2 separate regions of the Homo sapiens genome follow, and region 2 is linked to region 1. The links are contacts of gene promoters, found by promoter capture Hi-C in blood cells and fetal thymus (Javierre and others, 2016). All regions are on one chromosome and are shown on one strand. Each heading gives the region's core, a stretch centred on a gene start or on the middle of the fragment in contact. The rest is flanking DNA. Distances are from core to core; before and after follow the strand shown. Region 1 holds the start of AP4S1 (adaptor related protein complex 4 subunit sigma 1). Region 2 overlaps AP4S1 (adaptor related protein complex 4 subunit sigma 1).

Evidence for each region. Contacts are between HindIII fragments. The CHiCAGO score rates a contact against its expected background, and 5 or more counts as called.
Region 2: a fragment that was not itself captured here is called in contact with the fragment with the promoter of AP4S1 in region 1 in 5 of 17 cell types (erythroblasts, M2 macrophages, M1 macrophages and 2 more); the score reaches 11.1 in erythroblasts.

Annotation. Positions count from the first base shown.
Region 1 is chr14:31,021,484-31,026,898 of GRCh38, reverse strand. AP4S1 (adaptor related protein complex 4 subunit sigma 1) reads right to left here and starts at 1,250. Exons shown (of 6, transcript NM_001128126.3): 1 at 1,112-1,250. STRN3 (striatin 3) reads left to right here and starts at 520. Exons shown (of 18, transcript NM_001083893.2): 1 at 520-995. The coding sequence starts at 714. RefSeq lists enhancers at 22-181, 1,292-1,401, 1,472-1,571 and silencers at 312-631, 722-981, 1,121-1,302. The HindIII fragment of the contact is 24,948 bases long and covers 1,186-5,415 here.
Region 2 is chr14:31,076,050-31,081,219 of GRCh38, reverse strand. It overlaps AP4S1 (adaptor related protein complex 4 subunit sigma 1), which reads right to left. Exons shown (of 6, transcript NM_001128126.3): 5 at 636-647. Among named protein-coding and RNA genes, the nearest start is that of STRN3, 52 kb to the right of the region's middle. The HindIII fragment of the contact is 5,137 bases long and covers 1-3,914 here.

The DNA.
Region 1 (5,415 bases), core at 1-2,500:
GGGCCCACCCTTGGGACTGCCTGAAACACTCAAAGAATGAAAAAGAAACGTCAGGAATCCGAGACGGGATGCGGTCGGCCAGAGCGACCAGCCAGGTTAACAACCAGCTCAGAAAGCCGGGACACGGGTGAGAGACCCCTGGGAAGGAAACAGCGCCCGGGGACGGCCTGCTAAAAGGAAACTGATAACCAGGAAGCCTAAGGCCGCCTCGCTTCCAAAAGTCAGAGTCGGAGCCCAGGTGTCCGGTAGCTGCGGCCAGACACCGGATCGGGTCTGAGGGCGGGCCTAGGGGCGGAGCCCGAGCTCTTTCCCCGCCCTCTAACGGCGACCCGGGCTGCGTTCTCAGTGCGCCGGCGTAGGGTGAGGCCGGACTCTATTTGGCGATTAAGCGTGAGGCTGCGTTCGCTACCCAGCATGCTGTGCGCTAGTGACGGCCCTCCGCCTATCCCCTTCCCAACTCTCCCCCCACCCCTCCCGCCGAGGCCCCCCCTTCCCCTAAAGTGAGTGAGTGAGACGGGCAGATGGAGGAGGGATTGTAATGGCGGCAGCCGGCAGCTCCCTGCTCTGACCCACGGCAGGCACACAGCAACGACCCCTTCCCCGCCCCTCTCCCGGCCGGCCTCCGCCCCGCAGCCAGCGCGGGGCCACCCTCTCCGGCCCTTCCCCCAGCTGTCGGCGTCTCGCCCTGCGCCCCGGCCGGGGCCCCACACACAATGGACGAGCTTGCCGGAGGCGGTGGTGGCGGCCCGGGGATGGCGGCCCCTCCCCGGCAGCAGCAGGGACCTGGGGGGAACCTGGGCCTTTCGCCCGGGGGGAACGGAGCGGCGGGCGGCGGGGGTCCTCCGGCCTCCGAGGGAGCGGGTCCCGCGGCAGGCCCCGAGCTGTCCCGGCCGCAGCAGTACACTATCCCGGGGATACTGCACTACATCCAGCACGAGTGGGCTCGGTTCGAGATGGAGCGGGCGCACTGGGAGGTGGAACGGGCCGAACTGCAGGTACCTCGTTGGGGTCGGTGTGCGGGAGCTGCGGCGGCTGGGTTCCCGGCCGGGGGGTGGGGCTGGGGACTCCACTCAGCCGGAGCCGGCGCCTTGGGAGGCCGAGCGGAACCTACCTGTGCTGCTCAGGTTGTGATGGTCCTCTCAACGGCTTTTCCTGGAGTCCCCCTCCCTCTTTCCCGCATAAGCTTGCTCCCCAACCTTCACTGGCTACGCGGTGCGGGCCTCCTCGGGGCAGCCATTTTGGCTTTTAGTATGGCGTCTGCGGGGGCTCCTCCGGAGGCGGCCTTCCCGGGCCTCCGGGGCTTGGGACCGAGCACCTCTCTGTGGGAGAGTCCGGTTTGGGGCCTCTCAACACTGAGTTTGCTCTTGTTTGTTCCTCTTGAGATGAAGAGCCCGAAGAGAGGGACTAGGATAGGCATCTTACCCCCCTTTTCCGGACCACCCCCCTTTCCGATTTGGCGTATCTGGCCCCCTCCCTCAGACTTGGTACGCGCTTGCCCCTTGACAGCCACGCTTCTTTCCTGGGCTGCTAGGGTGCACAGTGACTTGGGACTGACCTGTGAAGTTTTATTTCCCATCGTCAACTTTAAGTACTTTCTCACCTGAGATGCTGCCTTACTCACTTGGATTCTCTGTAGTTATTCCTTACTTAGTGACTCATCAACGCTTTCAGCACTGAATTTTTCTTTTTACAGTACTCTCCACTAGATCTCCTTTCCCCCATCCGTTTCTTTATCTATAAAAAAACCAAACCAGACGATCGATGCTGTATTTATGAAACGACTGAAGAGATTTAATATTCCCTTGAAGTGAAACGTAGTTATATCATGTTACTTACTCTTGCAGGAGAAGCAAAGTGAGATGTTCTCGGAACCCTTCATAGTTGAGCTTGACTCGATCCTCATAATGTGAACCTTTGATAGGCTGCACATTTGGAAGCTGTTGGTAGTTAACAGCTCATGTCCTGGATCTCAAAATTGCTGCATCTTTTTGAAAGGGTTATTTAACTTTCTTGGGTATTTGTGTTTATTTTTAAATACCTTTCCAGGGCAAATTTAGGCTTAGAAGGAAAAAGCGTGTGTCTAAATAGTATTGCACCTGTTCTTCAGACTGTTGTGTATTTAGGGGGTAAGCAGTATTTGCTGTCATATATGTCATATGCCTATGGTGAATCGTTAGGCAAATGTAGTGCTGAAAGGAGGAGGATTGGATTAACTAGAAAGGGTGTCCTCAAATATGCATCTCTTTAGTTTGGTTCTGAACTAGTAAACTTTTATATGACTCCACAAAGTGGGTGAAGTTAAACTTTTCAAAAGTAAAAAATACTTGGGTATTTTGACACTGTATGAAGTCTTAAAAAAAAGTAACACTTGTTAGTCATTTCAGTGCTTTACAATTGTGTTTTGATATAATATTGGGCTTTAAAATTACATAACTTTAAAAAAGCTGAAGTCAAAACTGGTTTAAGTTGTGTACAGTCTGCTTTAACATACTTAAAATTTATAGAATTCTGTTGGTATACAGCTTTCTACTACATACTGCAAACTTAATTTTCTGTGTGAGTAAAGTAAGTAAGGCATTTGTTTTTAAAATTTGGATTGACAAATGCAGTAAGGCCTAAGCTCACTAAATAATACTTCACCAGTCCCTGCTATGGTTTCTTAGACCTTTGTACTGTTGTATGCAAGTTTGGATTTCAACACTCTTCAAGTTAGCAATTGCATTTTTCACCCATAAACTTCACTAATGTAAGCAGCTGAGAAGAAAGATATCTTGTGCCCAAATTAGTAAAACCTATACTATATATTAAAGAAGCCTTTATTGCCTGCTCTAGCATTTGCTTTCCCTTCTAGGTCTCCTTAACAGCAGCAGCAGTGTTTTAAGGTAGATTCCTTTTGCTTGCTTGCTTGCTTTCAATTCTATTGGTACAGTACTGTTATTAGCCATCCTAAGTTTTTGTTTGTTTCCTTGTTTTGAAGAAGTCCTACAGTGTTTCTAGACTCTTTTTTATTTCATACTGATTCTTTTGGAATAAAATGTTCATGATGGCGTTGGTTTTTTTTTTTTTGAGTTATATATTTAAAATGTTTTATTGGGTTAACTTAATAAGGTTTCTAGTTTGCTTTAGGTGCCTTCAGTCTACTGAGATTGCTTGTGAGATGCGTATTTTAAAATGTATGTGTTGAATACATATTTGTGGGAGGGTGTAGTGAAGCATCAGTGGATTTTTACTGTAAACTTAAACCTATTTTTAAGAAAGACAATCTAGAAATAAGACAACTTACATATTATTATGTACAGTCTCCAGTGCACTGTCATGTACACAGATTTTTAAAGTGTTAATTATTGAATAGTTTCAATAGAGAACGTGAAGAGCTTAAGGAATACCCCATATTGATGTAAAATTTTAATGGGGAATAATATTTTCCCTGGCTTTGGGAAAGATATTAAAAGGAACTTTACAGTATGATTCTGTTCTCTGTAAAAAGAATTTAGAGTAAAGGTCTGTCTTAGAAACTTGGAACCAAACTAAAGGATCACATCTTAAAGCTCTTCTGTCTCTGATTCTTCCTTACCTTAGACTCAGGTAAAGCATTGTTAGTAAGGTCATAGGACAGTGGTTTCTTAACTTTTATATAACATGAATTACCAAAATTCCACAGACAGTCCATTTTCTTCAAGCCCTAGATCAATCCAGATCTCCAGAGGATAAGAGGCCTGCATATTTTTTAGAGTTCTACAAGTGATTCTTTCTTCACAGTAGTGCCTGTTAAAGAGAAAAATTACTACACTACACTTTTCTTTTTTGTAATTTCATAGTAGATTCATTAAAATCTTGTCATGGAAAAGACACTAGGATTTGCAAATTACTATTCCAGACCAGCTTTTGAAAACCCTGAAAATGGAAAATTCAGGAGATTCCCCCCTTAAAAATGAAGAAATCAAGTAAGTCTAAGCAAAATATCTCCTACTAACTTAAGGATCTTTAAGCAGCAACATCTATCATGTTACGACTTCTAAAAGTTAGAAACTGCCATTTAATCAGCACTATAACCTCATGAGGTGAGTATTCCTGTTTTACAGGTGAGGAGACAAATTTAGGTAGGTTAAATCATTTTGCCAAGGTCACCTAGCCATAAAGTATTGCAGCTGAGATTTGAACCCAAGTCTGTCTGATTCCAAAGCCTGTAGTCATGTTACCACTCTTGTAACCATTATGTTATACTGTCTTAGCTCTTTTTTATAGAGTGGAATCTGACTTGTAATTCTTCATCTAGTATTGCGTGGCCCACACCACTTGAGTACATTTCAATAAAGTTTTATTGAGCGCCTGTGATGCTGCTGCAAGGCATAGTTTATATATATTGCTAATGTGTCCTTATATTTTTCTTTATAGTTTGTATGTAGTAAGTGGATTTTGGGTATATACAAAATGCTTGTTTGCCAAGTGTAAAAATATGACATAGCTAATACAAGAAAATGTAGTCAAAGAGTTTATGTTCTTTTTTTTTTTTTTTGAGATGGAGTCTCGCTCTACTGTCGCCCAGGCTGGAGTGCAGTGGCACCATCTTGGCTCACTGCAAGCTCTGCCTCCCAGGTTCACGGCATTCTCCTGCCTCAGCCTCCCCAGTAGCTGGGACTACAGGTGCCTGCCACCACGCCCAGCTAATTTTTTTGTATTTTTAGTAGAAATGGGGTTTCACCGTGTTAGCCAGGATGGTCTTGATCTCCTGACCTCGTGATCTGCACACCTTGGCCTCCCAAAGTGCTGGGATTACAGGCGTGAACCACCGCGCCCGGCCGACAGTGATTTTTCATAAAGGTGTTCCCTTTGTTCTGGGATTTTTAGCCTTCATACATTTTTACTGTTAGGCATTTCCTTTTTCAGATGATGGTGATAATAGTTAAAAAAATTTTATTGATAGTATTAAGGGAGTCCACTACCTTGTGTCAGATTCCCTGTTTCTTTTTGAAGCCCTTGAAATGAAGTTTAGGGACCACTGATCTAGAATTCTCTTTATGCTCCTCCACTACCCATTAACCCCACTCTGTAGTCTGCCTTTTCGCTTTCTTCTCTCCTCCCTTCTAAACACTTCGTAGAACACTATGTTTTCTGTTCATGATTGACCTTCAAATTGCCAAATCCTTTGGCCTTATAAACCGTATGTACTTAACCAACACTCTGTTGTTAACAAATCCTTCAAAACTGTTTTCTTTTGCTTCCGCTCTGTTTTTCCTGTCATCCACTTATCACTTTTCTTCATATGTTTTCTTTCTTTTGTTCCCAGTTGTTATTATGTGGGGTTCTGGTTCTATTTTATGTTCTCACTGTATATTCAGAATCAGATTTTTAGCTACCATGTACCATCTTAATAATACCTAGCATTTATTTACTCTTTCCTAATTGTTATTTCAG
Region 2 (5,170 bases), core at 97-2,596, 54 kb before region 1:
GCTGTGTTATTTAAATTTTGAAAATGCCTATTCCATATGCTTAAAGGAAATTAAATTAATAAATAGTAGCTATTAACTACTATGATAGCGCTATCCTGCCTGGAAAAAAAAAATCTTAAGAATCATCTTGCCAGGCGCAGTGGTTCACGCCTGTAATCCCAGCACTTTGGGAGGCCGAGGTGGGTGGATCACCTGAGGCCAGGAGTTCAAGACCAGCCTGGCCAACATGGTGAAACCCCGTGTCTACTAAAAATACAAACATTAGCTGGGCGTGGTGGTGGGCGCCCGTAATGCCTCAGGAGGCTGAGGCAGGAGAATACTTGAACCCAAAAGGCAGAGGTTGCAGTGAGGTGGAAATTGCAGTGAGCAGAGATTACACCATTGCACTCCAGCCTGGGCAAGAAGAGCGAAACTCCATCTTAAAAAGAAAAAAAAAGAATCGCCTTGTTGAAGCAGGGTGACGAAGTTGGGGAGGAGTTCTGCAGAACACACACACCTCTGGCTGTCTTGTCATAGTTGTTGGTGATGAACACTCTGGACTCTGCTGAATAGTTTTCCTGCCTTGTGGTACTTACCTGATAAGGACCAGAGTGCATTTGCCAAGTACTGTGGAAAACAGTATTGAAAAAGGATACATCTAATTCACTCTGGAAGACAGAAAAAGAGTGCAAGGGTTAGAAAAAAGACACTGGGGACCACTGCTCTTAGCAGAGTCAGACTGAAGAGGCTTCTGCGTCCATAGCAGCGGCCTCTCCTACCTGCTTCTGGGCTTGGTGGCCACAGCAGTCTGACTCTGCCAAGGCCCTAAGTTTGGGACTATAATTTTTTTAAATATAGGCTGTAGTTCAAAGGAATTTTACAGGCCAGCACGATTCATCTTTAGAAAGCAGAGGGAAAAAGAAACTAACTCAGCCTTTACAGATGTAGGTAATTTGATATGTGTATCAGAGATCTTAACAATGTGCCACACCCTTTGAATCCACTGACGTTACTTCTAGTAGTTTATCCTAAGGAAAAAATTAGACAATGGCACAATGATATATGACAGGATATTCAGGGTAATGGTGTTTGTAATAGCAAATTATGGATAATAACCTAAATATCTATCAAGGAGGGGAACAAATTAAGTAAACCGTAGCATATCCACAAATGATGATGTAGACATATAAGTACTCACATATTGTTAAAAAAAGTTACAAAATGTATACATAGTATTATCCTATGTATGTATGTATAAAGGTCAAAGTATATGTGGTTATACAGCTACAGACAGACATAGAAAGTCTAAAAGGAAATGTACCTAACAGCAGTTATCAGTAACTGATGGGCTTACTGATGATCTTCTTCTCACTTAAAAAAATCTATTTTATTTATTTATTTCAAGAAAGTATTTATTTATTTGGAGTCAGTCTGTCGCCCAGGCTGGAGTGCAGTGGCATGATCTTGGTTCATTACAACCTCCACTTCCTGGGTTCAAGCGATCCTCCCACCTCTGCCTCCCAAGTAGCTGGGACTAGAGGTGTGAGCCACCACACCTGGCTAATTTTTGTATTTTTTGTAGAGACGGGGGTTTTGCCATGTTGCCCAGACTGGTCTTGAACTCCTGAGCTCAAGCAATCCACCTGCCTCAGCCTCCCTAAGTGCTGGGATTACAGGTGTGAGTCATCATACCTGGCCAAAAAATACATTACTTTTTAAAGAGCAGTTTTAGGTTCACAGCAATATTGAGGGGAAGGTACAGCCTTCCCTCCGAATGTGCAGCCTCCGAATGTGCAGCCGTGTCCCTCCGAATGTGCAGCCTCCTCCCATGATCAGCATTCCCCACCTACATCATTCTCACCCAAATTCCACAGTTTACATTCGGGTTCACTCTACTGTTGTACATTCCATGGGTTTAGACAAATGCATAACTACATGTATTCGCTTTCCTCTTTCTCTTTGCTTATATGTTTTAAAATTTTGTAAATAAAATAGATATTTATGCAGTGAAAAAAGTATGGAGGAAGAAAAAAGCAAAGAGAATTAAGTTCAAATATGAAAGGACTTAAGGGTTGTCAAATGCAGCACTGAAAATCCCCTGATACCACTTCTTCAACAGCAACAACCCTCACCTCTGGCAAAGCTGCCTTCTTTGAAGCTAACTGGGTTGGTTTTTTGTTTTAAAAATGTGATGCTGAGATGCTTCTCTCAGCCCCAGACAGCATGAGACTGATCTCCAAATTTAAGATTTGGAAATTCTTGAAGATTAAAAATAGCCACAGAAAGAATGTTTAAAATTCACAAACCTAAAAATAAATCTTACATGACAAGGCCGTCTCTGTGAGGGGGACAGATCCTATTTTCTTTCCCATAGTGCTCTTTTCCCTCTTCCTCTTCTTCTTTTTGCTATGGTTTGATCCTAAGCCAAGTCATCCCTTAGTACCTACCGTCCAAGTCCTGCATAATCACCTGGCTGAAATTAAATTCTAATCTTTACTTTCGTGGTTTATGTGGTCACTGACTCTCCCTAAAATTATACCTATAATTCAGCAATATGCTATTTATTCTCAGTTACTGAATATAATAATAATAATTTTTAAAACCTTAGCAATGATAGTACTTGTACCCACTTTTTATTCTCCTAGGTTTAGAACATTATTATTTTGGGAAATTATATTCTTCTTGGTGGGTGTCACCTTGAAATGGCTAATCATGGTCAGCTCTGATCATAGACCCTGACTTGCAACTAGTCTGTCTAAACAAGAGAGTGGTCATCACAAGGTAAGCAGAAGCTAGAGCTATACTGTCCAATACAGTAAACACCAACCTCATGTGGAGATTTAAATTAAGTAAAATTAAAACTTTATTTCCTCAGTTATACTAACTGCATTTCAAGTGCTCAAGAGCCACATCTGGCTAATGCCTACTGTATTGGATGGCACAGGTACAGAACATTCCTATCTCTGCAGAAAGTTTTACTGAACAGTGCTGGTCTATGGTGCTCTTGCCAAGCAATCAACACAGAGATAGATTTTAAAGCCAGTCTCCATGTCCTCTGTCCCCAAGGCCAGTCTCTGGAATGACCACCTCTTGGTATCTTTCAGCTTTGGAACGCACCAACCCCTTCCTGGCTAGATGCATTTCCACATCACAGACCACAAGGCACGTTCCCAACACCAACTCTTGAATCAAGAAAAGGCTGATAAAGGCCGGGCACGGTGGCTCACGCCTGTAATCCCAGCACTTTAGGAGGCCAAGGCAGGTGGATCAAGAGGTCAGGAAATCGAGACCATCCTGGCCAATATGGTGAAACCCTAACTCTACTAAAAATACAACAATTAGCTGGGTGTGGTGGCACGTGCCTGTCATCCCAGCTACTCGGGAGGTTGAGGTGGGAGAATTGCTTGAACAAGGGAGTCAGAGGTTGCAGTGAGCCGAGATCGCGCCACTGCACTCCAGCCTGGCGACAGAGCGAGACTCCATCTCAAAAAAAAAAAAAAAGAAAAAAGAAAAAAAACAAAAATGGCTGACAGCAAGCCTCATGCACTAAGGCAATGATTACCAAAATTAAGCATGTACCAGAAACCAGAATCACCTGGAATCACCTGGAAGTCATCTTAAAACAGATTTCTGGGCCTTGACCTACAGCTTCTGATGCAATGGTCTGGGATGGGGCCCAGAATTTGTCTGTCTAACAAGTTCTCAACCTATGCTAATGGTCCAGGAATCAGACTTTGAGAACTGCTGCACTAAGACAATGAAGACAGGCTAGCTGACTGTCCCATGAAGAAGGAGTTTGCCAAACCTCACTTCTGGCATTAGGAGGTGGGCTGAAGACCTAACTTCCTAATTGGACTTTTGCCCTTTCCGGGTTTTAGTGCACACAATATTACTAATTATGGAGCACATTCTGCTCACTGCCTCAGGAAGAAGCTTGGAAAAATTCCTTGTTTTTATTTAAATGCGAAATGAAAAAAAACAACTTTAAAAAATAAGCTTGTGCTGGCTGGGTGTGGTGGCTCACGCCTGTAATCCCAGCACTTTGGGAGGCTGAGGCGGGCGGATCACCTGAGGTTGGGAGTTCGAGACGAGCCTGACCAACATGGAAAAAGTAGAAACCCTGTCTCTACTAATAATACAAAAATTAGCCAGGCGTGGTGGCGCATGCCTGTAATCCCAGCTACTTGGGGGGCTGAGGCATGAGAATCGCTTGAACCCGGGACGGAGGTTGCAGTGAGCCGAGATCACGCCATTGCACTCCAACCTGGGCAACAAGAGCAAAACTCCGTCTCAAAAAAAATAAAAATAAAAAGATAAGCTTGTGCCGCTGCTACTTCTCAAGAATGTCTAACTAAAGCTCAGGAAGGCCTATGGTACCAAAGTAAAACATCTTTACTGATTCTTTTTTAAAAGACTGGTGAGTTTCGAACTTGATACAAAGCTACAGAAATCAAAAGAGTGTGCTACTGATGTAAGGCTAGACACAGAGATCAATGGAACAAAAGTGAGAGGCCAGAAATAAACACTTACATTTATGGCCAATTGATTTACTGATAAGGGGGCCAAGACAATTCATTGGGGGAAAAGAACAGTCTTTTGAACAAATGATGTTGGAACAATTGAACATCTACAAAGGAATGGGAGAAAATATTTTCAAATCATATATCTGATAAGGGACTTGTATTCAGAATATATAAAGAACTCCTGCAACTCAACAATAAGATAACAAATAATGCAATGTAAAAATGGGCAAAGGATTTGAGCAGACATTTCTCCCAAGAAGATAGACAAATGGCTAATAAACATATGAAAAGATGCTCAACATCCTTATCCATTAGTGAAACACAAATGACAACTACAGTTCATTGGCCTCTATACCACTTTACATCTACTGGGATGGCTATCATATAAAAGACAGACAATAACAAGTTTTGGTGAGGATGTGGAGAAATTGAAACCCTCATGCACTCCTGATGGGAATTTGAATCACACCAACACTTTGGAAAACAGTTTGGCAGTTCATCAAAATGTTAAACATGGAGTTACCACATTCTGCTCCTAGGTAGTCCAAGAGAACTGAAAGCATGGTTCTATGCAAAAACGCATCCATGAATGTTCATATGAGCATTATTTACAGTAGCCAAAAACTGGAAATAACTCAAATGTCCATCAACTGATGAATGGATAAAAA